2 separate regions of the Homo sapiens genome follow, and region 1 is linked to region 2. The links are contacts of gene promoters, found by promoter capture Hi-C in human tissues and cell types (Jung and others, 2019). All regions are on one chromosome and are shown on one strand. Each heading gives the region's core, a stretch centred on a gene start or on the middle of the fragment in contact. The rest is flanking DNA. Distances are from core to core; before and after follow the strand shown. Region 1 overlaps PPM1E (protein phosphatase, Mg2+/Mn2+ dependent 1E). Region 2 holds the start of HSF5 (heat shock transcription factor 5).

Region 1 (4,489 bases), core at 355-2,854, 460 kb after region 2:
ACAGTCACAGTTGTTCAACCGTCACCCTAAGTTCCAGAAAATTTTCATCACCCCAGAAAGAAACCCCCTACCTATTAGCAGTCACTCCTCATTCCCACCACCCCTCCAGCCCTAAGCTACCACTACTCTCTGCTTCTATAAATTTCCTATTCTGGGCTTTTCATATAATTATTATTATAGAATTATAAATTCTACAATAAGTGGTCTTTGTGACTGGCTTCTGTTGCTATCCATAATGTTTTCAAGGTTCATCCACACTGTAGCATGTATAAGTGCTTCATTCTTTTTTATGGCTAATATTCCAGTGTATGAATATATTGCATTTTATTTATCCATCAAGTGATGGACACTTGGTTGTTTTTACTATTTGGCGATTATAAACAATGCTGCTGTGCACATTAATGTATGAGTTTTTTGTGAATATATGTTTTTATTTCTCATGCATGTATACCTAGGAGTGGAATTGCTGGGCTGGCCATATGGTAACTTTATGTTTAAAATGTTAAGGAAGTGCCAAAGCAGCTGTACCACTTTACATCTCCACTAGGAATGTATGAGAGTTCCATTTATCCATATAGTTGCCAACACCTGTTATTACTAATTGTCTTTTTTGTTATAGCTATTTTATTATAGCTATCCTAGTGGATGTGAAATGGTTTCTCATTGTGGTTTTGATTAGCATTTCCCTAATGACTAATGATGTTAAAAGGGGAAGAAAAAAACCTGTTTTTCTGTACAGTCACACACTTCTTTTTTTTTTTTTTTCGAGACTGAGTCTCACTCTGTCATACAGACTGGAGTGCAGTGGCATGATCTCTGCTTACTGCAACCTCCACCTCCTGGGTTCAAGCGATTCTCCTGCCTCAGCCTCCCGAGTAGCTGGGATTACAGGCATGCCACCACACTCAGCTAACTTATGTATTTTTAGTAGAGACGGGGTTTCATCATGTTGGCCAGGCTGGTCTCGAACTCCTGACCTCAGGTGATCGTCCCGCCTTGGCCTCCCAAAGTGTTGGGATTACAGGCGTGAGCCACCTTGCCCAGCCTCACACACTTCTGACACTAAAAGTGTGTGGGGTTTTCCCACCAACCAATTCTCCATTTCTCCCTGGACATCAATTAGGTGTCTTACAATTTAACTCAATTCTGACACTAATTGCCTGGAGTTACAACAGATCCCACAGGATAACGGGCTCAGTCCTGCAAGATGCCCCACCTCAGATGCCAGTTAAAAGTCTGGACCTCCCAAACTTCTGACCAACTGGTTATAAATCAAGGTTTCCTACAACCTTCTCCGAAGTTAAATAATTTGCTATAATGTCTTACAAAATTCAGGGAAACATTCACTTATGTTTACTGGTTTGTGAAAGGATATTATAAAGGATATAAATGAACAGCCAGATAAAGAGAGATATACAGGGTGAGGTCCTGAAGGGGAAGGGTCTCAAACATAATAGGTTCTGTTGGAGGTGGGGTATGCCACCCTTCTAGCACATAGTTATGTTCATCAAACCAGAAGCTCCCAAAATCCCATCTTTTAAGGATTTGCATGGAGGCTTCATCACGTAGGCATGTTCAAATAATTATTAAGTCAATCTCCCATCTCTCTCCCTTCCCTAGAAAATGGGAATAGGGTTGAATATTCCAGGCCTCTTATTATGGGTTGATCTTTCTGATGCCCAGTTGCCATCCTGAAGCTATCCAGTAGCCCACCAAGAACTGCTTCATAAGACCAAAAGGCACTCATAGACTATACAGGAAATTCCAAGGGATTTAGAAGCTCTATGTCAGAAACCAGGTTCAAAGACTAAATATTAGAAGATGCTTCCAGTACCCCGTCACTCAGGAAATAAAAAGGGTTTTAGGGGCTCTGTGTCAGGAACCAAGGCGGAGGACAAATATTTATTTCCAATTATGTCACAGATGTTGCACATCTTTTCATGTGCTTATTGCCCATTTGTATATCTTCTTTGGAAAAAAGCCTTTGGGTTGTCTTTTTATTATTGAAATATAAGGATTCGTTACATATTTGGGATACCAGTCTCATTAGATATATGATTTGCAATTTTTTGTTTTGTTTTGAGACAGGGTCTCTCTGTCTCTCGGGCTGGAATATAACGATGATTATGGCTCACTGCAGCCTTGGACTCTGGGCTTAAAGCGATCTTCCTGCCTCAGCCTCCCAATTAGCTGGGACTACAGGTGTGCCCACCATACCCAGCTATTTTGTTGTTGTTTGTTTTGAGACAGGGTCTTGTTAAGTTGCCCAGGCTGATCTCAAACTCCTGGCCCCAACCTTACCCCCTTGCAAAGTACCAAAATTACAGACATAAGCCACTATGCCTGGCAGATTTGCAAATATTTTCTACCAGTCTATGGGTTGTCTTTTCACTTTACTGATTTGTGATACAAAAGTTTTAAATTTTGATGTAGTCCAATTTAATATTTTTTTTCTTTTCTGCTTGTGCTTTTGGTGTCAGAGCTAAGAAAACCATTGCCTAATCCAAGGTCATGAAGATTTACTCTTTTAGGAGTTTTCTTTTAGGAGTTTTATGAGTTTTAGCTTTACATTTAGGTCTGTGATGCATTTGGCATTAATTTTTGTATATGGTGTAAGGAAGGGGTCCAACTTGATTATTTTGCATGTGGATATCCAATTTTTCCAGCACCATTTGACCATTTTGTTAAACAGAAAGTTATTTTCCTTTTTCCTGTTTTTTTTTTTTTTTTTTTTTTTTTTTTAGACAGTCTTGCTCTGTTGCCCAGGCTTGAGTGTGATCTGCCCACCTCGGTCTCCCAAAGTGTTGGGATTACAAGTGTGAGCCACACTCCTGGCCTTTTTTTTTTTTTTTTTTTTTTTGAGACAGTCTTGCTTTATCACCCAGGCTGGAGTGCAGTGACGTGATCTCAGCTCACTGCAACCTCTGCCTCTTGGGTTCAGGCGATTCTCATGCCTCAGCCACCCAAGTAGCTGGGATTATAGGCGTGCACCACCACACCCAGCTAGTTTTTGTATTTTTGGTAGAGACAGGGTTTCACCATGTTAGCCAGGCTGGTCTTGAATTCCTGGTCTCAGGTGATCCACCCACCTTGGCCTCCCAAGGGGCTGGGATTACGGGTACGAGACACTGCACCTGGCCTTTTTTTTTTTTTTTTCACTTATTTGACCTCTCAGCAATTGACAGAGTTCACTGCTCCCTCCTTCAAATACTCTCTACTATCTCGGTTCTCCTTTTACAGATTTTGCCATTTCTCTTTAGTCTTCATAGGTCCCTTGTCTTCTACTAAGCTTCTAAATATTGGGTTTTCAGTTATTGTCACTGTATTGCAAATTACCACAAAACTTAGTGGCATAAAACAATTATTTATTATGCTCACAATGTCTTTCAGTCAGAAATTAAAACTGGGTAAAGCAAGGTCACCTTATCTCTGTTCCAACTGGGGTCTCTGTTGGAAGACTCAGGCTGGGGGACTGGAATCATCTGAAGGCTTGTGAACTTACATGTCAAGCAATTGATAATGGCTACTGCCTGGGAGACCTCAGGCTACATCCACATGAGCCTGTTCATGTGGTTTCTCCACATGGCTAGTTTGGGCTTCCTCATGGCTTGATGGCTTGGCTGAGTATGAAGAGCAAGTATCCAGAGGGAGACAGAGGAAGAAAGAAGAGGAAGCCGGGGGAAGCCACGTGGCCTTTTATGAACAAACTTCAAAAGTCACACAGTATCACTTTTGCTACATTTTTTTCATCCGAGTAGTCACCACACCTCACCCATGTTTAGATTAGGAAGGGAAACAGACTCTATTTTTTTATGGGGAATGGCAAAGTTCTAAAATAGCATGCGGGACCAGGAATGCTGTTGCGGCCTTTTTAAAAATAATCTGCCACAGTCTTTTCTGGCCACACAATTCACATCCTTCCCATGTGCTAAATGCACTCACCCAACATCCCCTAAGATTTCCCAAAGTCTAATCCCATTATGGTATTAGGCTGAAGCTTGAGGTCCAAGATTTCATTGAGGCCAAGACCATGGCAGATAAGATTTCTTATCTGGCAAGTAAGGTTTCTTCCTTTAAAAAAAAATTCTCCAATGAGAGTTTAATTTTTATGTTTATCAAAGTGTATACTATATTAGATCATTTGTGTACCAGTAGTTACACTGATAAGGCAATGAAAAAGAAAATGTTTAACGCTGGAGCCTTATGGTCACAGAAAGTTTTTAAAAATTTAATTTCAATTTTCATACATATTTTTACTGCAGAGACATATTATATACTGCTTTGGCTGAGTCCCATAGGTTTTGGTATGTTGTGTTTCTGTTTTCATTTGTTTCAAGGAATTAGTCAATTTCCTTCTTAATTTCTTTCTTCACCCATTGGTTGTTTAGGAGCATGTTGTGTAATTTCCATGTATTTGTGTAATTTTGAATGTTTCACTTGTTATTGGTTTCTAGTTTTATTCCATAGTCAGATAAGATACTTGATATGA
Region 2 (4,870 bases), core at 316-2,815:
CTGCAGGCACCTTTTCCAAAACTTTCCCTTGCCTGCTATTGTAATGTTCTAAGTTCTCTCTTTTTTTTTTTTTTTTTTTTTTTGAGACCGAGTCTCGCTCTGTTGCTCAGACTGGAGTGCAGTGGCACTATCTCGGCTTACTGCAACCTCTGCCTCCTGGGTTCAAGCGATTCTCCTGCCTCAGTCTCCTAAGTAGCTGGGATTACAGGCGTGCACCACCATGCCTGGCTAATTTTTGTATTTTTAGTAGAGACGAGGTTTCACCCTGTTGGTTAGGCCGGTCTCAAACTCCTAACCTCGTGATGCACCCGCCTCGGCCTCCCAAAGTGCTGGGATTACAGGCGTGAGCCACCACGCCCAACCGTAATGTTCTAAATTCTCTTGACTACGATTTTGTTCCATCCCGCCTTAACCCGTAGGGTGACTCCACTCTGCTTCCCACGGGAGCAAAGGAGCCCCTTTTGTTTCTTCCAGACCCAATGTTTCAACGAAGGACTACTGAGTCCACATGTTTACAGTGGACAGTGTGGGTCTCAGGAAGGTAAACGGAGGCTTACAACCAGGTAAACTCCTGGGGTTCAAACCGGGGACGAGTAGAAGGGAGCCTAAGAGGCGGAGGTCCCTTTTGCTGCCAGTGGGCTCAGAAGGGGCCGAATGCTTACGGACCCTCCAGGGGAGGGCCGGTGGCCACCGTGCTGGTGCCGCTGAGAACGGCGGCGGTGGCGGGACCGCCAGTCTCGGGAAGCACAGCGGCCAATGGGTCCCCGGCGCCTTTCCGACGCCCATAGCGTGAGGACGTGCGAAAATGCGCCCTCCAGCGGCGGTTGCTCCCCGCCGCCCATGTGCCCACTGTGGGCGAGGGCACGGGCAGTCCGGACTCACCGTGCGGCTCGGGCCGGGGCCCCGCGGGCGGCGGCGGCTGCTGGTGCTGCAGTGGCGCGGTGGCGGCGGAGGCCGAGGTGATGAGCAGCCGCTGGAAGCGGTTGGGCGGGCGGCAGGGCACCTCCAGGCCGGCCGCCAGCTTGGCCTTGTTGGCGCTGGTGAGGCGCTTGAGGTGCACGAGCAGCTGTGGCTGGTCGCGGCGGAAGTGCGGGTTGTGGAAGTGATGGAGCGGCCCATTGCCTGCCGGTTTGCCGCCCCCCGGCCCGCCCAGCACCACCTTGCGGAAGCCGTAGAGGTTGAGCTGGCGGATGAAGCTGGTGAAGCTGGTGGTTTTGAAGAGCTCGGGCTCGGCCCCGGCCCCCGCAGTCCCGCCACCGCCCCCCGGCCCGGGCGGGCTGAGCAGCTCGGCCTCGAAGAGCGGCTGATCGATAAGCAGCCCCTCGCCGCGGCCGTCCCAGCGGATGGAGCGGTAGCGCGGGCTGTTCACCAGGCGCCACAGCTTGGCGGGGAAGTTGTTGGGGTTGATGGGGGTGGAGAGCAGCGCCTCCATCGCCCCGCCGGGCCGGGGCCTCGCCCCCCGAGCCTAGCTCTCCCACACCGTTCTCGATCCCTCCCCGGCCTTCGCCTCGCCCTGCCCGCTCCTGCCGGCGCCCATCCGCCGCGTACCAGGGACCGTTGGCGCACGAGGCCCCGCGGCGCCTCCCAGCGCGGCCAATGGGGCCTCGAGTTCCCGCCACGCGGCGTGGGCACCTCCCCCTCGGCGGCCGCGTGCCCCAGCTCGGCCCGCCGGACGCCTGCGGGACCCGGGCAGGAGCCCCTTCCCCAGGCGTTCCCAGACTTCAGGCCGGGAAGGCTGTCTGCCGGGGTGTTCTAAGTCCTGACAAGAGAGAAGCCCAGTTATCCACCGTGGAATACCAAGAGGCGTGTGTTTCGGCCCAGCCAACTAGTGGAGACTTGGAATGCAGAGAAAGTGTGCGTTAGGCAGCAGAGTTGGTCGTTCTGGGGACCAAAGGGTCTGGTCTGTAATCTTTGCTAACAGTGGAACTGCTTACCTCTCAAACAAAAATGATGCTACTGGAGGTATAATATCTTGAGTAAACGAACTCACCTTTTAGATAGTAGCCCTTTGTATCTTTTAAGATACACTCTTTTAAGTCAGTATTTGTTCAAGACAATTTACTCAAGGTTAGATGAAAACTGAGGTCCCTAGGAGGAGGGAATCACAAGAATCTAAGTACTATCTTGTGTGCCTGCCCAACTAGCTGGTGGCATTTTAGACATTAAAGAGAAATAAAGATGGGACAGAATTCTACGGTATCCATAAGAATCGATCCCTAGCCAATCAATAAATAAGAATGTAACAAGAGCTGTGCTGATTCAAAAAGAGAGGTTCATTTGAAAACGGAAATTGGCCGGGCGCAGTGGCTCATGTCTGTAATCCTAACACTTCGGGAGGCCGAGCTGGGTGGACTGCTTGAACCCAGGAGTTCGAGACCAGCCTGGCCAACATGGTCAAACCCTGTCTCTACTAAAAATACAAAAATTAGCCAGCGTGGTAGCATACCTGTAGTCCCAACTGTTCAGGAGGCTGAGGCAGGAGAATCGCTTGAACCCAGAAGGCGGAGGTTGCAGTGAGCCGAGATCGCACCACTGCACTCCAGCCTGGGGAACAGAGGGAGACTCCATCTCAAAATAAATAAATTGGAAATTGCTGGGAGAAAGGGGTACAATGTTCTACTCTTCTCATGGTCAAAGAATAAGTGAATATTAAGTTTTTTTAGAAATGAAAATAAAACGACCCAACAAAGCAGCACTAATATAGAGATTTTATTTAAACTGTATTGAATTTTTACAGCACATTGCATGTTTGTCACAACGCAACTGCACAGTTTGGATTTTTGGCCACATCATGTCACTTACACCCACAACAGCTCTGAAAGGAGTATTTGATGAACACATCTGAGCCAAGAGCCCAGAGTCTCTCTCCAAGGCCATGCAGTTTGTTCACTGATGGGACAGTCCCTCAAAACAGCCACGCTAAGTAGACAGATACAGTCTCCCCAAATGTTACCAATCTTACTCCCCTTGAAAACAGGCAGAGTGAAGTGCAATGAAAGACAAGTTAATTAAAAAGCCACTCACAACTGGCAGTAAATTTTAATGATTGATAAAATGCTTAAAATAATTTTATGTATCAGAAACAAGGAACAGCTTGTTACTTTTTCAATGATCTCAGGAATTTTGCAGACACAAAATCTCCATTATTCAGCTCCATTTAAATGAAAAAAAAAGTTCCGCTAGGCTGACCTAAATATGCCAAAACTTTTTAGGTTACATCTATGGCAAGTACAAAAGAACCACAGATGCGTCTCTGTAGGACTGAAAAGGTCAGGACAAATAATGATTCTTGTTCTAAATGCAGATCCTAGTTATTTTGGAATGAAATGCTGTTTTCTAGAAAGCAACATGAAAGTAGCAGTAAGAAAGATGACTACCATCATTTCAAAACAGGATAAGCCTAAATATAATTTACCATTTATATGTCAACAAATTAAGGAAAACTGTATAAAGTCCTAGTGGTTTCATTATAGGCCAAGGAGACTGTATCTGTCCCACCCACAGTACATGGCTATATCACTGTATCTTTTGGTTAAGTGCCACTGGTACATATTAAGATGAAAAAAAACAAAAACAAAAACAAAAAAACAAAATAAAATTTTTTAAAAACCAACAACGTTTGGTCCAAATGGACACATGTTCTTTCCCAATTTTGGTATCAAGGCTTTATTCTCTTCTGTTTGGGTTCCATTGTTAAGTGCACAGAAATAGACAGCAGCATTTGTACTGAAACCCTCACATACCAAACAGCATATGCTAGGAGGTAAAAACCAAACGCTAAATTCTACCCTCAAGGTGTCAAGTGTTCAGGATAAGAAGCAATGTGACCCAGAGGAGGCATCAGCCAAGGGAAAGACAACATGGGGGAAATGGGCAATGGAACAACAACAACGAAAACCTTTGTTTTATTTTCATGCCAGGAGAGGATCAAGGTGTAGCTCCTGTGTTAGCACCAGGACAACTAGGAAAAGTCAGGTGCAAAGAGTAGGGCACAATCAGCAGATATTTCACAAGGATAATTTTTGCTTTTCCCTTCTCATTCTTCACAGTGCATAACTCAAGAGCTGCCACTGTGTAACAGAGACGACTGCCTTCACAGCTCAAAATAACTCAATGTTTGCCAGGACCGAACATCAGCAGAGTTTTCCTCTGCTCCCAAAAATGTCTCACTCCCTAGAACTGTTCCCCTAAACTGAATATTCACCAATGCTGGCTGATGAGCCAACTGAAAAATACATTGAAACCTCCACTTGCTGAGCCAGTCTTCAAACCAAACTCCACAGAAAGACAGTACTAATGCAACTAGAAGGAGTGCCTCTAAAGGCTGAGCCTTCATGCAGACACAGAGCACAGAGGTACAGGATATAGTTCATCTCAAATAGGACAGGAATTCCTACCTTGTATACTATAATCTGCTTTTGTCAAGGTGGAGGAGAGATGGGTCTGGTTATCACTTGGAGTTTGGTTATACATATGCCTTTCTATTGCTGTTTGGGGCACTTTGCACCAGGCAACATCTACGCAATCATCATCTTGTGACCTCCAGGAGAAAGAGGCTGGAGTCACCAACTCAACATTAAGCTTCCAGACCCTGGGTCTGGGTTAGGACCATTACCCCAAGGTGAGGGTATCACCAGTAGAGGACCTCCTGCTAAATTGCAATTCCTCTGCTCCAGTTTCATGATACCAAGGAGGATTTCTCAAGATGGTATCTCTGAGCTCTGTGATTTCATGAGCCACACCAAGGAACCTTCCAAACTACAACTGAAGAAGATCCTCCCTTCAAACCTGCTAAAATTGGACAGGTTTCTCCCCGGCATTCAACTGGAAGCTGTAGCAATGGGTTTCTTCAGCTGTTGGCTCATGAGTT

The links. The method cuts DNA at HindIII sites, captures the fragments that hold promoters and counts their contacts. A contact is called where the count stands out against the background at its distance.
Region 1: a fragment that was not itself captured here is called in contact with the fragment with the promoter of HSF5 in region 2 in 1 of the 25 tissues and cell types used here (lymphoblastoid cells).

What each region holds. Positions count from the first base shown.
Region 1 is chr17:58,944,397-58,948,885 of GRCh38, forward strand. All of the region lies in intron 1 of PPM1E (protein phosphatase, Mg2+/Mn2+ dependent 1E), which reads left to right. Among named protein-coding and RNA genes, the nearest start is that of TRIM37, 160 kb to the right of the region's middle. The HindIII fragment of the contact is 4,077 bases long and covers 1-3,643 here.
Region 2 is chr17:58,486,843-58,491,712 of GRCh38, forward strand. It overlaps HSF5 (heat shock transcription factor 5), which reads right to left and starts at 1,566. Exons shown (of 6, transcript NM_001080439.3): 1 at 883-1,566. The coding sequence starts at 1,432. MTMR4 (myotubularin related protein 4) reads right to left here. Exons shown (of 18, transcript NM_001378067.1): 18 at 2,695-4,870. The coding sequence ends at 4,821. RefSeq lists silencers at 848-967, 1,228-1,277. The HindIII fragment of the contact is 20,222 bases long and covers 1-4,870 here.